Regions from separate parts of the Homo sapiens genome. Here region 1 is linked to region 2. Evidence: promoter capture Hi-C in 16 types of primary human blood cells and fetal thymus (Javierre and others, 2016). All regions are on one chromosome and are shown on one strand. The core of a region is centred on a gene start or on the middle of the fragment in contact, and the rest is flanking DNA. Distances in the headings are between cores, read along the strand shown. Region 1 overlaps PLEKHA8 (pleckstrin homology domain containing A8). Region 2 holds the start of GARS1 (glycyl-tRNA synthetase 1).

The links. The method cuts DNA at HindIII sites, captures the fragments that hold promoters and counts their contacts. A CHiCAGO score of 5 or more calls a contact.
Region 1: a contact is called between a fragment that was not itself captured here and the fragment with the promoter of GARS1 in region 2, in 5 of 17 cell types (non-activated CD4 T cells, total B cells, activated CD4 T cells and 2 more). The highest score is 6.8, in non-activated CD4 T cells.

Annotation. Positions count from the first base shown.
Region 1 is chr7:30,058,612-30,064,089 of GRCh38, forward strand. It overlaps PLEKHA8 (pleckstrin homology domain containing A8), which reads left to right. Exons shown (of 14, transcript NM_001197026.2): 10 at 2,273-2,331; 11 at 3,286-3,416; 12 at 4,061-4,131. Among named protein-coding and RNA genes, the nearest start is that of PLEKHA8, 33 kb to the left of the region's middle. The HindIII fragment of the contact is 2,370 bases long and covers 154-2,523 here.
Region 2 is chr7:30,593,421-30,598,680 of GRCh38, forward strand. It overlaps GARS1 (glycyl-tRNA synthetase 1), which reads left to right and starts at 1,458. Exons shown (of 17, transcript NM_002047.4): 1 at 1,458-1,723. The coding sequence starts at 1,502. RefSeq lists enhancers at 913-1,526, 1,157-1,506, 1,527-2,140, 2,141-2,754 and a silencer at 2,650-2,749. The HindIII fragment of the contact is 4,590 bases long and covers 1-3,865 here.

The DNA of each region.
Region 1 (5,478 bases), core at 89-2,588, 530 kb before region 2:
GACTCTCTTTTCTGTTCCAATGATCTTATGGTGTCTTAATTATTATAAGGCTTGAAATCAGATAATGTAAGTCTCTCAGTTTTTTCTTTTTCAAGATTGTTATGGAAATTCTAGGCCTTTTGATAAATTTTAGCTGTTCAATTCCTATTTAAAAGCTTTTTAGGATTTTGATTAAGATTACATTATATCTCTAAACCAATTAGGGGAAAGCTGACATCTTAAACAACATCGAAGGCTGGGCTCACTGGCTTATAACTGTAATCCCAGCACTTTGGGAGGCCAAGGCAGGAGGATCGCTTGAAACCAGGAGTTTGATCCTGGCCTAGGCAACAAAGTAAGACCCTGTCTCTATGAAAAAAATTAGCCAGGTGTGATGGCGCAAGCCTGTAGTCCCAGCTACTTGGGAGGCTGATGCAGGAGAATCACACGAGCCTGGGATATCAAGGCTGCAGTGAGCCGTGGCTGCACCACTGCACTCCATCCTAGTTGACAGAGCAAGACCCTGTCTCAAAAACAAAAGCATTGAGTCTTCCAATCCATGAGGATGCTGTATCTATTTACTTAAGTCATTTTAATTTTCTCTGAAGAATGTTCTATCTAGTTTTTAGTGTATAGCTATCATATTCTTTTGTTAGGAATAAGTTTTAGAATTTTATTTTTTTATTCTGTTGTAAAAAGTGTTTTATTTCATTTTCCGATTATTAATAGCATGTACATGCAAATTATGTTTATATGCTGAGTTGTTTTTATAATCATGAATGAGTTAACTTCATAAAATGCTTTTTCTGTATTTGCTGAAGTCATTTTTTTCCTGTAATTTGTTAATGTAATGAATTACATTGTTTGGATGAATTTCATTCATTATCTTGGTATTTGTTTCTATCATCTTGCTACTTATTTTCTGCTTTTCTCTGTATGTTCTTTGTTCCCTTTTTACTCCTTTCCTGATCTCTAGCCAGTTAATCAATTTTTTTTTTAGTATTCTGTTTTATTTCCTCTTTTGGCCTCTTAGCTACCTATCTTTGTCCCTGCCTTTCTTTTAGATCAATCAAGTATTTTTTTTTTTTTTTTAAGAATTCCTCTATCTTTTCTCTTTTGGCTTTTTAGCTATACCTCTTTGTTTTATTTTTTAGTCATTGTTCTTGCCCAACAGAAATATTCAAACCACATATGTAATTTTAAGTTTTCTAGTAGGCATATTAACATAGTAAACACAAATTAATTTTAATTATTTTAAAACCTAGAATATCTAAAATATCTTAACATGTAATAAATATAAAAGAATCATTGGGCCGGGCATGGTGGCTCACGCCTGTAATCCCAGCACTTTGGGAGGCCGAGGCAAGTGGGTCACAAAGTCAGGAGATCGAGACCGTCTTGGCCAACGTGATGGCACATGCCTGTAATCCCAGTTACCTGGGAGGCTGAGGCAGGAGAATCGCTTGAACCAGGGAGTCGGAGGTTGCAGTGAGCTGAGATCATGCCACTGCACTCTAGCCTGGTGACAGAGCGAGACTCCGTCCCCCCAGAAAAAAGAATCATTAATGAGTCTGAGCATGGTGGCTCACGCCTGTAATCCCAGCACTTTGGGAGGCTGAGGTGGGCAGATGACTTGAGATTAGGAGTTCGAGACCAGCCTGGCCAACATGGTGAAGCCCGTCTCTACTGAAAATACAAAAATTAGCTGGGCGTGGTGGTGGGCATCTGTAATCTCAGCTACTCGGGAGGCTGAGGGAGAATCGCTTGAACCTGGGAGGTGGAGGTTGCAGTGAGCCGAGATCATGCTACTCCACTCCAGCCTGGGGACAGAGCGAGAGACTCCATCTCAAAAAAACAAACAAACCGAAAGAATCATTAATGAGATATTTTGCAATCTCTTTTTCATACTCAGTCTTCCTAATCTGGTACGTATTTTACTTCCAGTACATTTTGGTTAGTACTAGCCACGCTGCAAGTACTAACTAGCCACATATCTGGTGGCTACCATATTGGACAGTGCAGCCCTAAGGATTACTATATGAATCCTAAACTTATAAGATTATCTTCATCTCACCTGTCACTTAGGGCCTCATTATAACTCACCTTGGAGTAGTGTAATAGAAAAAGATGGTAATAGTATCCTGGGAGCTTTTGAAGATTATGTTTAGATAAATGATTTGGAAGCAAAAATTAAAGTTGTTGGGGATCTGCTAAATTTATTATTACTTTATTATAAAAAATATTGCCACTTAAAAATTGCTTTTTCAGAAATGTTTTTAATCTTTTCTTCTAGACAAACTTGGCCCTACAGTGTTTGCTCCTGTTAAGATGGATCTTGTTGGAAATATTAAGGTGAGCATACTGGTTTGTCTCTGTGGAAACTTTTAAATAAAGGAAAATGTTCTCAACATTTTTGTGCTTGGCCAGAATAAATCAAAAAGTGAAAAATGTGTCACTGTTCTTTTAAGAGAGCAAGCATCTTTCTTCTCACACTGTGAATGCTCAGTAAGGGAATTACTAAGCCTTTATTATATGCTAGAGTTAAGCTTTATGGGGAGTAGAAGATTCATTTTTAAAATGAAACCAGGACTGCCTTTTCATGTGCACCGTGTGGATCAGTAGGGTTTCACTCTAATGTCCACACTGATTCTGTGCTTTTTTAGGTTTAAATGGTGATAAGTTATATTTTTCTAAAAGATAGGTTATATAGTGAAAATAGCTGTCAGTGGTCTGGGACTCAAAAGGCCCATTTCCAGTGGTAGTTGTGGGACCATCAACAACTCACCAAATCTCTGAGCCTCTTTCTTCCAGGTAAAATAAGGGATGGGTCCCCTTTTAAATGCAGATTAAATGTTACCTTCTTGAGGATACAGTGCCCAATAAAAATCTTTTTTGTCATTGGAGACTAGTCTTTGAGGAAGCACTATTAGGAATTCCTGTAGGTATACCTTTCTTTATTGTATTTAGGTGGAACAGTTGCAAGTAGTCTCATTAGAACAAATGATTGTTGAGTTTTATATTCAGAGTGAAAAGTATCTGCCAAAGACAAGCATGAGAGAGGTTCTGAGGCAGAAAAAATAACTTTAAGAACAAAACTTTAAACCCTGAGACTATTTAATTCCAGTTTAAGCTACATAGAATTCTCCAAAACAAATACTATCATGAAAACATAAGGAAGAAGGTAATAGGAGCTTAATTTATTTTCTTAGAGGCCTGCTTGCCAAACTTACAAGTCTCCAGACTATACTGAGTTGCTTGATAACTTCAGCATTTTAAACTTAGGTTGTTTCCCTGCTTTCCCTCCAGAAAGTAAATCAGAAGTATATAACCAACAAAGAAGAGTTTACCACTCTCCAGAAGATAGTGCTGCACGAAGTGGAGGCGGATGTAGCCCAGGTTAGGAACTCAGCGACTGAAGCCCTCTTGTGGCTGAAGAGGTGAGGCAGCTGGGGTGGGACAGCAGTTAAAATCTAGCTCAAAAAAAATTACCAGCAAAAAAAATTGTTACACAAAGGAGACTACTTCTGAGTGAAGGATCTAGTTGAATTGTGTAGCCTTTTCTAGAAGGCCTAATGAATAATACCACCTTATTTTTTTTTTGCCTCTCTTTTGATGGTGATAAATATTGTTGATAAGTATATATAAGATAGGAATCTTAAAGGCATTAAAGTCAACTGGCTTCTCTTTAAATCAGTGGCTCTCCAACTTCAGTGGCATCAGAATCATCTGGAGGACTTGTTAAAAACACTAGACTCGGAAACAGTTTCTGATTCAGTAACTCGGGTGGGGCCCCAGAATTTGCATTTCTAGCAAATTCCCAGGTGATGCTAAAGCCACTAGTCCTGGGACACATTTTGAAAACCACTTCTTTAGGTATATCAGATGAGATGAAAGATGGGCTCCAGAGCAAGCTAAAGGGAAGTGAAGGGAAGAGGTTCAGGAAGGACTGCCATATGATTTGACCTATTCACTGCTGTGCCTAAGATGTTACTGAAATGGAAGCTGATGTCTGCCATTTCTTTATACCCACTCAACATAAGTGAACTTTGAAAATAATATTTCTTCCTTTATTTTGTTTTAGAGGTCTCAAATTTTTGAAGGGATTTTTGACAGAAGTGAAAAATGGGGAGAAGGATATCCAGACAGCCCTAAGTAAGTGTTCTTTATGTTTTGTTGAATGAGTCAATAGACTGTGGAATGGAGACCCCTAGAGGAGGATACAGGGTATAGGGGATATTTCTGCTTTTCAGAATTTGATTTTGTTTCTTTTCTTATTTCATTATTATTCATTGCTTCTTATATGCTTTGTTTAAAAGTACCTATGAGACAATGACCTGGTAATCTAGATGTAACTTACTAAAAATCAGTATATTTTAAAGACGTGCTGAATAAGTGGAAAGCCATCTCTTAAACATAATAGGAAGACCTAATATTATCAAGAAGTTAGTTTTCCTAAATCTTCAAATATATTATAGTCTTTGAAAATCAGTATACAAAGAAAAGCTTGAACACCATAACAGCGGGTTGGCGTGGGGGAATCCCAGGGATTTGTTCTGGAGTAAGAGTAAAGGTTTTCGTCGTCGTCGTGTAACTCCTCAAATATATAATGCTGTGTGCGTCCCAGTTTCTAGTCATAAAGCCAAAATGGGATGAAGGGCTTGGTCAGAGGAGATCATCTTATATCTCCAGCACCTTAAAGTAGTGACTGCAACATTGTAGGTGCTTAATAAACATTGGACAGGTAGGTAGATGGATGGATGTGTGGATAGAGCCATTTATCAGACCAGTTTTGGAAAATGTTGAGATTGGGGAGCATCCTTAGAGTGCTTCTAATGGAGTGGCTGAACTCTCACCATTGATCTATAGGAAATTCTTCTAGCATGGGCCATGAGGCGTGTGTGGAGAAAAAAATGAACTGTGACATAAACTAATTAGATGCTTCTGGTTTGAGAGGGAGCTAGTGTTCTCTGTGGCTTTTTTTCAGTGTCACAGTTGGGTTCTACCTCCTTCTGTTAGTCCTCTCTCTGGGCCATGAGTCCTCAAGAATTCTGCCCCCACGTGATTTCCCGAGTCTGCCCCATCTAGCAACTGCTGATCTGCCATAAAAATGAGAGCTGACATTTCTATAGCACTTTGTGAACAATGTAGACTTCATAAACTTAATCCTCATTTCAATCCATTTTTACAGGTTAGGGAACTGTAAGATTAAAATATTGCTTAAGACCAGCATAAGGTCTGAAGCAGAGTGGCTTTGAGGCCCCTGCTTTGAAGGTCCACATTTCTCCTACAAAGGGTCTTTTCCACCATTCCTGGGCCACCTGCATTTTTACATTCCCCATACATCCCTGAATTTCAGGATGGTCTCAGTTATATTCTCCCCTCTGTGTCCTGATTTCAAGTACTAAAAGTATATTCAGCATGTCTACTCATGCCCCCTAGCCAGTATCTGTCAAGCTTTATGGCTTGTGGAGTGTAGGATCAGGAGCTCTGGAGTGGCTC
Region 2 (5,260 bases), core at 208-2,707:
AGAACGGATTTGGAGTCCTTTCAGGACTGTCCTAACATGAAAATGGATGAGACATTATTGATCTAAGGAATTTTTTAGAAATAAAATAGTTTTATTCAAAGGATATAGAATTTCAACATTTTAATAAAAATCTAAATAAAAATAAAAGTAAAACTTAAAATGATTTTTCACATTTAAAGATATTAAAATAAATTCAAAATTGCCTAGTAAAATAAAAGCCAAATAAATTATAATTAATATCAAATCTTGAAATAAAAGTGTTTAAAAATATAATTGTTCAATATTGCAGAAGGTTCTTAAGCAACCCACCCTGCTCATGTTGAATTGTAAGTACTTCTCCAGAACTGCACACTGGAACGGGAAGAGAAATAACATGGACTTTCACACCATTAGGAAAGGAGACTTCATTATACTGAGCCCGTCTACTCCTGCACACTCCTGGGGTGGGATTGTGGGTCACAGGGAGACGTACGTGCATACTGCCGAAGAGCTCCCAAGTGGCTGGCTGCACCAGTTAACACTCCCCTGAGCAGTGTAGGGGAGTCTCAGAGGGTCACTTGGCATTTTCCATCATTTTCATTTTAGCCATTTTTGCAGGTGTGCGCAATGCTGTTTTTATAACCAACACATCATTTTTCTCTTCCTTTCCTGGAGGGGGAACCCAGCTTTTCTAGGCCCTCCACCCTTTGGGCAGGAGGAACTGGGTGTGTGGGGCGGGGGGAAGCCATCTCTGGGTGGTTGGTCAGCTGGGGCCTAACCACAGGAGGCAGATAGACTGAGGCTATGCCAAGCAGAAAGACTTATCAGGCACCTCTTGCCTTTCCTCATCTCTGCCGGTTCAAATCCTGCTCGCCCCGCAAGGGCAGATTGGAATTTACCTTCTCCAGAAAGCCTGGGGTGACTCTATCCCCTCACTCCTCCTCCCCCGTTCGCCAGCTTTTGTCTTGACATCGGCGGACCAAGAATGTGTGACTCTGGGCAAATCATTAACCTCTCTGGGCCTATTTCCTTATCTGGGGAACATCTGCACTTGAGCAACAGAAGTCTAAGATCCCTATCTGATTTGATGTTTTGCGACCCTTTTAAGGCGCAGGGCGCGAAAGAACAGAAACAGAAGTGTCCGTTCAAGTAGGTCGGCCGGGGTGTCACTCGTATAAAAACCTATGCTTTGAAGGTTCTCGTGTGTCTCGGCCTGCAGGTCTCGCTCAGAGCTGTGTCCCTGAACATCCACCCTGCTGGGGTGGCTTGACGCACTTCTGTGCAAATCTGTTCGCTCGCAACCCTACCTACCTCTCTCCCGAACCGGAGAAAACCTTCGGCGGGGTCCTTCCGGGTTTTGTGTCGAATCTGCGGCGGCGACCCGGCGCCGCGTCACGCGGTGGTGAATGTGCGGCAGCACGCGCGCCGCGTCGTTTACGCGGCGATTTCATCATGCTCCGAGCCGGGCGGCGCGCGCCGCTTCCGTCGCCACCCTCTCTGGACAGCCCAGGGCCGCAGGCTCATGCCCTCTCCGCGTCCAGTGCTGCTTAGAGGTGCTCGCGCCGCTCTGCTGCTGCTGCTGCCGCCCCGGCTCTTAGCCCGACCCTCGCTCCTGCTCCGCCGGTCCCTCAGCGCGGCCTCCTGCCCCCCGATCTCCTTGCCCGCCGCCGCCTCCCGGAGCAGCATGGACGGCGCGGGGGCTGAGGAGGTGCTGGCACCTCTGAGGCTAGCAGTGCGCCAGCAGGTACCGGTGTTTTGCGCTCTCCGCTAAGCCTCCGGCTCTCCTCCCAGGGCCTTCTTCTGGTCATCCTTCCCTCCTCCCCGGGGAACTGTCCTCCTCTTCGGTTACCCCTTTCTTTCCCTTCATCCTCTGGCGTCTTCTTCGCCTCCCCCACTTTGGTCCCAAGTCCCCCGTGCGTCAGCCACCTCCTCTCCCGCGGACCTCCGTCCTCCTCTCTTTTTGGATGACTCCCTGGAACCCCTCCGACTTCCTGCGTCCCTCTCCGGCTCCGTTCTCCCTTCCCCATTCTGTCACAGCCCGCGTCTCCTCTATTTCCAGTGGGGCTGGGATCTGTGACCCTTTGGTTGTCCTCGCCTCCTAACTGAATAACCTTAACTTCAGTTTTCCAGGCTCTGCTGTACTCTTTGTGCACCCTGGGTGGAAAGCCTCCTAATTCTTTCAGTGGTCAATGATGAGCCGAAAAACTGCCGGTTCTTTCGTCTTACGGCCAGGCCCTTTAATCTTTAGGATGCTTTGATAGTGTTTCCCCCTTAACATCTTCCTTCATTCAGTGCTTAGTTTAGCGGAATGATTGGCTGAGAAAATAGAATTGAAATGTGGATGTGGGGAGGTGTCGAACTTTTCTATTAATGCTGTGAACTCATCATCCTTTGCTCTTGTCATCTTTTCTGGCTTCTGAAAAGGCCGTTTGGAACCAGTGAGCCCTCAGATCGTAAACCTGGGAAACTAAGTGTTGCGGAGTGAAGTCAGCCATCCTTAGTATGGAATATTTTGACATTTGATTTTCCCGAAGGTGAGGGAAGGTTTCATGGGCTGAAGGACTTGGTGATTTAATATAGACCTCCTTTTCCTAGGGCACTGCCATAGAGTTTAGAATTTAGAGATATCAAGGAAAAGATTATTTCAGATGATTCCCATATGCAATTAGGGAGAGCCAGAGCTTGCAGTAGGACCCCGGAGATCATGACTTAGTAGTAAACACCAAACGGGTTTCTCCTGCATGGGCGCCTGATGCAATAATTTGCCTTAGCTACAGAGGGTGGAACCCTATCTCGGAAATAATTCATTGGGGCATAGCTGCCGCAAATTCAGCCACTTTGCCATCTGTCCTCTTCGCTGGTTTGAGCCTGACCGATTTTAATAAATAGCCTTTCATTTTGAAATATCACCACGGGCTTAACTTTTTTCTTCATGATTGGTGTCAGAACACCGATTGCATATTCTGTCTCCCTCCACCCACCTTCCACTCCACAAATAAAATTAGGTGTGGTTCCTTTGTCTTTTCTTAACTTGCCATTTTAAAAAATATCCTTCCCTTTAGAAGGAAGCATACAACTAATTTGGAGAAAAAAAAAAACCACCACACCCAAACCCCTCCCTCTGCCACGTTAGCCTGGAACTGCAGTGAAAATCATCCATCGGTAGTTAAGACAGGATCTAGTTAACTAAAGTAAACTTTGATCGCGGCAGCTTTCCGATGCTACTAACTACTGTCTTGTGTATTGTTTATGTTGTCTTGATTATTGTTTTGTACTTTAAGATATTTTCCGAATATACGAGTTAGTTGATTTAAGTTAGTTTGGATATTTTTTTCTAATTTTCCAAGAACACACATATATCAGTTAGTTAATTGTGTGAATTACTGAGTCCTATGTCAGCTGAAAAATAATTTAAAGATGATCTAATTTTACCCATTTTTTGTATATGGGGAAATGAGACACACTGTCACCCCTATCCATTTTGGATAACTCCATTGTGAAGTGCAATTGAAAACCTTTCCGGAGTGGGATTTTTACTTAATGACTGGTCTTGTTAGTAGCACATGTTTCATAGAAATTTGTTAATCTGGAAAATGAATGAAGTGAGTTTGTCACTTTAAGAAAACAACGGTTAGTATTTGTGGCCAATAATAAAATTCAAACTTTGGGGAAATTTTAGAATTTGGGAAGACTCGTATCTTTTGCTGTGAGCTTGGCAGCTTCACAGTCCTTAAAGATATCTGTGATGAGATGAGTGGTGATATTAACAAACGTGGATTTTTTTTTGATAGTATTTGGATAATCTGCGTAACTCAGTGAACCAGTGTTTTCCAGGTGACCAATGCATGATGTTATGAAATCAGGTATTGGTGAAAGAGCCATTCAAAGCTTAAGATACATTAATAGATTTATTCTGACAGTACAAAAAATTCATTGCTATAGTTTCTGAGTTAGAAATAACCTTGAAGAAGCTACCACTTGTCAGAGTTTTGAGGTAGTATCAAAGAATATCCACAATTATCCGAAACGGCTTTTAAAATTATTTTTCCTTTTCCACCTACATATGTCTTTCTTCATATACTTTACCCAGAACGTCATATTACAAAAGAAGCAGACTTTCCACATTGGTCTTTTAGGATTTTTCACAGATTAAGGTTACCAAAATAGTAAGTGCCAAACTCAAAATTTAAAAACCCATGAGGAAACAAGCCACCTTGAGTGAGACTTAGGGGAAATGATAATAGAATTAGATCCTCCAAAAGTATTAGAATAATCACATATTTTTAAAATGCTTAAGATAATTTTTAAAATAAAAGAAGTACTCAAAAACATGAGCAAAGAACAAGAGACTACCAAAAACAATCACACAGTGTGAAAATGAAGCACATATTGTATGGAAATGGATCACTGAAATTAGAAACTCTGTTGGGTGCCCAAGGGCTATATCAATTTAACAACTTTAATTACTCAGCTGAAAGTTTTTCATCCTATATAGGTAATATTTTGTTTGTTTACTCAGATGACCTATTCCACCATATTACTATAAATATGGAATTAGTATAAGTTGTTGGAAGTTAATAAAATAATTCAGAAATATTAGCAAGGAAAAAATTCCAACTGTAAAGAGAAAGGCAAAGGAAGATGAGCCAGCAGTGACTGAGAAGAATGGTCAGAGAAGTGGGAGGAAAACTGAATAATGTTTTTATTTTTTTTTGTAAGCGAGAGGAGAGAGATTTAAGAAGGTGGTCAATTTATTGGTTCTTCTGTGTTCTCAGTACAAATCTTGCTCTTTCCTACTTTTTAATCAATGCTTTTGTCTCCTCCTTTTTCACCCCTCTATACCCAAAGGAAAAAATTCACCATGTGAGCAGTTATTTGTTAACTTGCCCGTGTGTTCTTCTAGATTATTAAATGAAGAGGGCAGAGACCTTGATTCATAATGATCACTCACATAATAAACATTTGAATTGCATCATTCTTTTTTTTTTTTTTTTTTTTTTTCATTTTGAGACGGAGTCTCACTTTGTCACCCAGGCTGGAGTGTAGTAGCATGATCTTAGCTCAGTGCAACCTCCGCCTTCCGGGTTCAAGTGATTCTCCTGCCTCAGCCTCCCAAGTGGCTGGGATTACAGGTGCCCACCACCACGGCCGGCTAATTTTTGTATTTTCAGTAGCGATGGTGTATCACCATGTTGGCCAGGATGGTCTGAAACTCCTGATCTCAGATGGTGAGGAGGGCCTTTCAAAGTGCTGGTATTACAGGCGTGAGCCACCACGCTTG